2 separate regions of the Homo sapiens genome follow, and region 2 is linked to region 1. Evidence: promoter capture Hi-C in human tissues and cell types (Jung and others, 2019). All regions are on one chromosome and are shown on one strand. Each heading gives the region's core, a stretch centred on a gene start or on the middle of the fragment in contact. The rest is flanking DNA. Distances are from core to core; before and after follow the strand shown. Region 1 holds the start of HSPA5 (heat shock protein family A (Hsp70) member 5). Region 2 holds the start of MIR181A2HG (MIR181A2 host gene).

Region 1 (4,313 bases), core at 1,410-3,909:
ATTGAAGAACTCTTTAACCAGTTGCTGAATCTTTGGAATTCGAGTCGAGCCACCAACAAGAACAATTTCATCAATATCAGACTTCTTCAAATCAGAATCTTCCAACACTTTCTGGACGGGCTTCATAGTAGACCGGAACAGATCCTAGAAAAAAGACATGGTTACTGTGATGTCTGTTATCTAAGTATCTAGATGCAATGTCCTGAATTCAGAGTCTAAGGAGATCTCATTAGCAAAGCAGAAAACAAGGAACATACCATGTTGAGCTCTTCAAATTTGGCCCGAGTCAGGGTCTCAGAAAAGTCTTCTCCTTCATAGAAGGACTCAATTTCAATTCTTGCTTGATGCTGAGAAGACAGGGCCCGTTTGGCCTTTTCTACCTCGCGCCGGAGTTTCTGCACAGCTCTATTGTCTTTCCTGACATCTTTGCCCGTCTTCTTTTTGTACAGTTTGATGAAGTGTTCCATGACACGCTGGTCAAAGTCTTCTCCACCCAGATGAGTATCTCCATTAGTGGCCACAACTTCGAAGACACCATTGTCAATGGTGAGAAGAGACACATCGAAGGTTCCGCCACCCAGGTCAAACACCAGGATGTTCTTCTCCCCCTCCCTCTTATCCAGGCCATAAGCAATAGCAGCTGCCGTACTATTAGATTGAAAAAGGGAAAAGTTTTGTCAGTACTTCACATTTCCACTATTTGGCAAATATGCCGTATCCCTGAATTTCATACTTACGGCTCGTTGATGATCCTCATAACATTTAGGCCAGCAATAGTTCCAGCGTCTTTGGTTGCTTGGCGTTGGGCATCATTAAAATAGGCTGGTACAGTAACAACTGCATGGGTAACCTAAAAGGATAAAAGATAATTAAGTGTATTGTCACATAGTTTAACCCTTATTTAAATTACAGTCTGGCCAGGCGGTGGCTTCTGCCTATAATCCCAGCACTTTGGGAGGCTGAGGCAGGAGGATCACCTGAGGGCAGGATTTCAAGACCAGCCTGGGCAATGTGGAGAAACCCTGTCTCTACTGAAAATTAAAAAAAAAAAAAAAAATTAGCCAGGTGTGGTGGTGTGCCTGTAGTTCCAGTTACTTGGGAGGCTGAGGCAGGAGAGCTGCTTGAACCCGGGAGGCAGAGGTTGCAGTGAGCTGAGATCGTGCCACTGCAGTCCAGCCTGGGCAACAGAGCAAGACTCCATCTCAAAAAAAAAAAATTACAGTCAAACCATCACTTTAGTTTTTAAGCCAACTTATTGATGAATACAACATATAAAATTTTATGTCCCTGGAATTGTAAGCATTAAATAATACATGAAAAGTCTATTTTGTTTGGCTTATAGTAAGGGACTCAATAATTAAACCTGACAAGCATGAATACCATTCTGATTAAAATTTTTGAAACCCTTCACGAAGGCTTCTATACATAACAGCCAACCGAGAATACTAATGATCAAAAAATACTTAACATTGTTCTAGAAATATTTACCTTCTTTCCCAAATAAGCCTCAGCGGTTTCTTTCATTTTAGTGAGAACCATGGCAGAAATTTCTTCAGGAGCAAATGTCTTTGTTTGCCCACCTCCAATATCAACTTGAATGTATGGTTTAGTTTTCTTTTCAACCACCTATTTTAAAGAATTATTGTTTTCAGACACAGATACAATGACATCTCAAAGTTTAAAAGACCCACTACCATCCCCACAATTTGGTTTATTTTGGTCCCTTGGGGCTGCAAATTGACTAGAAATACTTCAGGGAGTATAGGTGTCTTACAAAGTTCAGTTTTAATCGGTCTTTTATTCCTAAACTATCGTAGACAGTACGACAGCAACTGTCTTAAGTTTTGTAACATACTAATAGTATTAAAGTTATTACATACATCATGTCTATAACCTTCAACTGTTGTCTCAACACTTTTCCAGAGACTTATAACTCTAAATACTCCCACCACCCACCCGTTCTCTAACTGGATGAGAAAAACCCGGTCGAACCTTGAACGGCAAGAACTTGATGTCCTGCTGCACAGACGGGTCATTCCACGTGCGGCCGATGAGCCGCTTGGCGTCAAAGACCGTGTTCTCGGGGTTGGAGGTGAGCTGGTTCTTGGCGGCATCGCCAATCAGACGTTCCCCTTCAGGAGTGAAGGCGACATAGGACGGCGTGATGCGGTTGCCCTGATCGTTGGCGATGATCTCCACGCGGCCGTTCTTGAACACGCCGACGCTGGCAGAAAAACCCGACAGAGGGACATCAGCACCGCACTTCTCACGCCAGGCCAGGCGGCCACGCCCCGTCCCCCTGCATCCGCAACCCCACTTACCAGGAGTAGGTGGTCCCCAGGTCGATGCCGACCACCGTGCCCACGTCCTCCTTCTTGTCCTCCTCCTCGGCCCGCGCCGCGCTGAGCAGCAGCAGCATCGCGGCCACCAGGGAGAGCTTCATCTTGCCAGCCAGTTGGGCAGCAGCAGGCAGTCCAGCCACAGGCCGTAGCACAGGAGCACAGCGCAATTTCCGACTTGCAGGCGGCAGGGGCCCGGGGTCACAAGGCGCCACGAACCAGGCGAAGGGCAGGTCTAGAAATACAGGCCGCGGCGCTTCCCTCTCACACTCGCGAAACACCCCAATAGGTCAATCTGTCTGTGCTGTCTTGGCCGGCGTCGACCTCACCGTCGCCTACTCGGCTTATATACCCTCCCCCAGCCCCGTCGTGGAGGCCGCCGATTGGTGAAGGCCCTGCTCGTTGGAGGCCGTTCATTGGCCCAGGCCACCAAGCTGGCCGCCGCCGATTCGAAGCGGCCCCCTCCGCAATAAACGTCACTGCTCCGCCCCCCCCAGCTGATTCATTGGCTGCTATTCGTTTCTAACGTTCACCAATGGTAGATAACATCCGCCCCATCCGCTGGTCCCATTGGTTCAGCAGCTGTCTATCTCTCCTGCGACTTCTGACCCCGAGGCATTTCCGCTGGTAACCGCACAAGTCCCGCCTTCACTCCCGGCCCTAGGGGGTCGGAGTAGGTCCAGCAGGAGTGACCCCCCGGGGCTGTGGGATCTGAAACTTTTTCTTCTCTACTGCTTGTTCTCCCTTCCTCCATCCCTCACCCCGAAGCGGGAAGCAGCTTTCTCTTCCCAGCTTCCATCCAGTCTCTGAGTAGACCAGTCGCAGCTTAGATGCTGGGATCGCCTCAGAACACATTTCTTTGCCCTTCACGGCCACTACCGGTATTGGGGTATGCGAGTCTCAGGGCCGTTCGTTGCTCACAGGTCGAGCTGGTCTGGACTCTGTTCGACCACGAATCATGACTCCTTCCTGCCAGTTATGTCCCCTCCGCACCCTTGCCCAGCCATTTTACCAGGCCTCTCCACATTGCGCTGCCCCACGGTAAGTCGCAGGACAAGCCCGGCCAAAGGAATTGCCTCCAGCTCTGAGTCCCCTCCCTACTGTGGCAACCCACTCCAGTGCCAGCCCTCCCACACTGGATGTCTAATTTTTCTAGCTTGCCACCCTTTACTTTCCCCTCCGCTGCCCATCCTTTCCCTCTGGGGCAAAGGTTATCATTTACGGGGCTTTCTCCATCCTTTATTGTTGATACTTTTCTACCTTCATTCCAGGAAAAGGTCTGATGTACACGCAGACAACACATTTGATAGGCGAAAATCGTCTTGATAATGCCTTATTCTTATATAACATCCTGTTGCAAAAAATAATAGAGACCACTATTTGCTGAAAGCCTACCGTGGATTAAGCATTGTTCAGTGTGCTTTTCATGTGTCATTTAGTCTTGACAGTTCAATACTCGGTAGGCATTTCCCGTTTTCCAGATGAGGACATTGAAACTGAAAAAGATTAAATAACTAAACAAGTCACAGAGCTGGTGAGTGATGGAGTTAGGATTGATAACCAGGTGGAGTTCACTCTATTGCCAATACTTTTTTTTTTTTCAAGACGGAGTATCACTCTGTCACGCCCAGGCTGGAGTTCAGTAGTGCAATCTCAGCTCACTGCAACCTCCGCTTCCGGGGTTCAAGCGATTCTCCTGCCTCAGCCTCCTGAGTAGCTGGGATTACAGGCACGCACCACCATGCCTGGCTAATTTTTTTTTTTTTTTTTTTGTGGAGATGAGGTTTCACCATTTTAGCCAGGCTGGTTTCGAACTCCCAACCTCAAGCGATCTGCCCACCTCGGCCTCCCAAAGTGCTGGGATTACAGGTGTGAGACACTGTGCCTGATCTCTTAACTTTAAAACAAAAAATTCATCTGTGGCCGGGCGTGGTGGCTCACGCCTGTAATCCCAACACTTTGGGAGGCCGAGGT
Region 2 (4,239 bases), core at 747-3,246, 580 kb before region 1:
CAGCTTGCAGAACCATGAGCCAAATAAACCTCTTTTCTTTATAAATTACCCAGCCTCAGGTATTCCTTTACAGCAACACTAAAGGGACTAAGACAGTAGTATACACATGCAATGGTATATTATTCAGCCTTAAAACGTAAGGAAATTCTGACATGCGACAACATGCATGAACCTTGAGGACACCATGCTAAGTGAAATAAGCCTGTCAAAAGGGAACACATCTTGTATTATTCCACTTATATGAGGTATCTAGAGTAGTCAAAAAGCAAACAGACAGAGGCTAGGCACGGTGGGCTCATGCCTGTAATTCTAGGATTTTGGGAGGCCAAGGTGGGTGGATCACTTGAGATCACGAGTTCGAGACCAGCCTGGCCAACATGGTGAAACCCCGTGTCTACTAAAAATACAAAAACTAGCCAGGCGTGGTGGTGGGCACCTGTAGTCCCAGCTACTCAGGAGGCTGAGGAAGGAGAATTGCTTGAACCCAGGAGGCGGAAGTTGCAGTGAGCCAAGACAGTGCCATTGCATCCCAGCTTGGGCAACAAGAGTAAAATTCCGTCTCCAAAAACAAAAAACAAAAAATCAAAGAGAAAGTAGAATGATGGTTGTCCCCAGGGCCTGGGGGAGGGAAGAATGGCAAGTTAGTGTTTAACAGGTAGGTAGAGAATTTCAGTTTTGCAAGAGGAGAAGAGTTCTGTGGTGGATGGATGGTGGTGAAGGCTGCAAAACAACGTGAATGCACTTAACACCACAGAACTATACACTTAAAAATTATTACAACAGTCAATTTTATGTTACATATACCTTACCACAACTTAGAAAAAAAAAAGATTGTCTTGTGGCTTACAAAAAGCAAGAGAGTGCTCATCTCCTCTTCTTTCGAACATTCTTATATCTAATAGTGCATCAAAACAGCTTTTCTCGGGTTAAGACAAGAGAATAATTCTGGGGTAGTCCTCATATGGAAGGTGCTGCATAATATAGTCAACATCTAAAAAATTCCAAGTACAAACATCCAAACCCAAAATTTACAGCAAAAGAGACAGATGGAATTATTTCAACAACTGTGAGAAAGGCAAGAAATAAACAGAACTATTGGTATGTTTAAGTATCAATTTAGGACTCTATAAGCTAATTTCTAAAGAGACAAGAAAGTCCACGGAAAAAAATGATTGGTCCATGTAGAGTAGATTTCATATATCAGAGTCAAGGTCTCACAAAACAACTTTACTGTTTTGAAACTTTAAAGAAGTGTCAACTTGCATTAAATAAACAAAGCAACTGCCATGTACTAAACAAAAATGTCACAAATGACAGTCCTGTATAATGACCTGGTTTCCCAGTGGCTCAGAAAGATGGAAAATAAACCCCAAGGACCCTAGTTCAGACAGACTGAAGAGAGCAGACCGTGGCTGTCTTGCATGATTAAAGGCTATGTCACAGCTCAGTAGGGTCCATGCTTTCATAGCTTCCCCCCCCCAGCAACCCCTAATGTGACTAGGACTGGGACAAGAGTGACAGTCTCACAAAGGGGATAAAAAGACATAAAGCTTCTTCCTCATACATCCAAACACTCCAGAATCTAAAACTTCACTTCTCTGTTGTCCATCTATCCAATTTTCATTAAGAGCAATTTATATCATATAGAGGCTTCAAAGTCAAATATGCCACTTTTATTTTTACCTTATCAAACCTATAAAATCAAGACCAAGGGTTGGTCTGGATATGAAGCTTGGTTAGGATCACAATAAATTTTCAAATCAAATAATTGGTTTCAGTTAGAGCCAAGTTTATCAACAATAGGGTGATTTAGGATTCAGGAAAAATCGGCTGCCTATTTGTATTTCAGAAAGACTAGTATTTCTTCTGACACAAGTAGAGAGGTGTAAGCAACCTCTGGGTGGGTAATGCCACCAAACAAAAGCAACACCTTCAAAGTCTCTCAGTGACTAGAGGCAGCCAGACACTCAAACTGCCAGTCCTGAATTACGGCCTCTGAATGGTGAGGGCTTCACATTTCACCGATCAGGGCACAGCCCAATCAGAAGACAAACCCCTGCACTGCCAGGGACCAGCAAATCCGCTTTCTTCCAGTGTGCACATGACTAAATGTGCTTCTGTCCATCATCTGGGTCATATATAGTTCAATGCGAGCTGAGCAGACAGGGCTGCAAGGAAATCTGGCGCGGTTCAATACCTCGTCTAGCCTGGGTTCCAGTATCTAATTTTTTTTTTGTTTTAACTGACAAACTCATTTCTCTACTGGGACAGGATGCTGTGCTGGCTGGAAGTTCCATTTCTACAGCAAGAATCCTATCTGGAAACACAGAAGTTGTCCTCTAGCCACAGCAGCTCGAACTTTTTTGATTGTCGTTGCTGCTTTCTCCCATCACCCCCATCCCCTTTTGACAAAGATCCAACTGTAAAAAGTCTTACGTAACAGTTCAGGACTACTTCGGTTCTTTTACTGGGTAAGCACTTTCAATTTTTTTTTTTTAACTAAAAGCCATTTTAAAATTGAATCTGTTGAGGGGCTTGACTAAAATCTTTTAAGTAATTTGTGTAATGGAATACTGTCAGTGGATTTTTTCGTCTCATTTCTGCACGTGCTCCTTTGTTCTCAGAACAGAAGCTTTTTATACACATCCCATAACGCAGCTGGAGAGAGTTATGAAGTCAGTTATTATAAGGAACACAAAGGTTGCTTTCCATTCTTTGCCTTTAGATAATTAATTTTTTTGTTTTCTTAAAATGGAGTATTTAAAGAAGGAAGAAATTCACAAGAAATAAACTGTTGGAGAATTTAGAAAAGTTTGAAGTTTTTACCACCTTTTCTATCTCTAGTTTTGTGTGGCCAAACACTTGTGCCGCCTGGGGCGGTGGGGGTAGAGGCAAGCATAGACAGAGAGGAACTAAGCCAGACATGGACAAAGGCACGAGCCAAAACCAGACAGTCCTGGCCGTTCGATAGGCCAGCAGTGGGTGAGACAGGTCAGCCAGCTGCAGGGGCGGGAGCGGGGGGGCGGGTAGGGACATGGATGTGTGAGGTGCTCATGCGTGCGATCGTGACTAGATTCTGAAACTGCCAGCCATTTTCCCAGCTCCGCTTTGTGCAATCTAAAGGAATGCATCCCCTCTGAAGCAGTCTTGCCAGAGCCTAGTGAGGGAGAGAAGTATGGTAAATACCACAACATATGGAATCAGAAAATACCGGGAACTGGAGTGGGCAAGGGGGAATGCAGAGGGTGTGGAAATTTTTTAGTGATCTGGAATGTGTTGAGTGACAGGAAGTGCCCCAAGCTTCTCCCCCACCAACTCTTCTCAGTCGCGCCTGCTTTTGTCTAACTCTTGTAATCTACACACTACTGCTTACAAAGCTGTCTGAGTTTAAGACAAAAAGAAACCTAAAAGTCTCCTTACTTCATAGTACCTGTGATATGGAAGGAATGTAAAAGCATGACCCTTTAAGCCTATGGACATTTTTTCAGGTATACAGGAGAAAGATAAAATAATTTTCCACAGAAAAATGAGAATTATGAATTATATAGTTCAGGTTCCAAATCTAATTTTTAAAAGAATTCTGATTCTGCTACACTTTACAAATGCTTAGGTTGGTTCCTAATTTGAAGCAGACTTGTTTTATTTGGTTAATGCATTGCATTTGAACTTGTTTCTATTTTCTTTGCATAAATTTGGACTTTGGGAGAAAAATGCAAAGTAATAAGTAGAATGCACTTGGGGGAAAAAAGGAGGATTTTTCCCTTCATGGGTTGGAAAGTATTTTAAAGGGTTGTTTTCTTGAAAAAACAAGCTCTCTCTTACTTTCTGCATCTATGCTATAAAGATAACTATGCTATAATAAATGTAAGGTAGAAAACTTTAAAGAGAAAATAACAGTGTTCTAAGTGAAAAGCTACTTAGCATTTTCCCAAACTTACACATTATCAACAGAAACACTAAAAATTAAGAGAAAAGCAGCCAACTAATTAAATAGCTAGCCTTATTTTGGGGGTATGGGATAGAAAATTAAGTGTGAATAAAATGATACTTGGGAATGTTTCTCCCTCGTACCACAAAGGATGTTAGTGGTCAGCCTACGAGTTAATCCTTCCTAGCATGGCTCTGAGCCTTCATGCCGAGCAGACGTTATTCACATGACGATTCGAAAAGTCCATTCATATATCTCGCTACCTGGATTTGAATAGAAACCAGACAGCAATTCTTTAGTTCCAGCCACCA

What was found. Contacts are between HindIII fragments. The study calls those that stand out against the background at their distance.
Region 2: a fragment that was not itself captured here is called in contact with the fragment with the promoter of HSPA5 in region 1 in 1 of the 25 tissues and cell types used here (mesenchymal stem cells).

The regions. Positions count from the first base shown.
Region 1 is chr9:125,238,684-125,242,996 of GRCh38, forward strand. It overlaps HSPA5 (heat shock protein family A (Hsp70) member 5), which reads right to left and starts at 2,660. Exons shown (of 8, transcript NM_005347.5): 1 at 2,322-2,660; 2 at 1,993-2,224; 3 at 1,489-1,626; 4 at 738-850; 5 at 258-648; 6 at 1-144. The coding sequence starts at 2,443. It overlaps HSPA5-DT (HSPA5 divergent transcript), which reads left to right and starts at 2,973. Exons shown (of 3, transcript NR_186826.1): 1 at 2,973-3,380. RefSeq lists enhancers at 2,069-2,148, 2,290-2,794, 2,687-2,981, 2,795-3,299, 2,949-3,258. The HindIII fragment of the contact is 17,872 bases long and covers 1-4,313 here.
Region 2 is chr9:124,656,271-124,660,509 of GRCh38, forward strand. The region is part of intron 2 of NR6A1 (nuclear receptor subfamily 6 group A member 1); the gene reads right to left. MIR181A2HG (MIR181A2 host gene) reads left to right here and starts at 2,166. Exons shown (of 2, transcript NR_038975.1): 1 at 2,166-2,471. RefSeq lists enhancers at 2,213-2,332, 3,154-3,203. The HindIII fragment of the contact is 3,606 bases long and covers 194-3,799 here.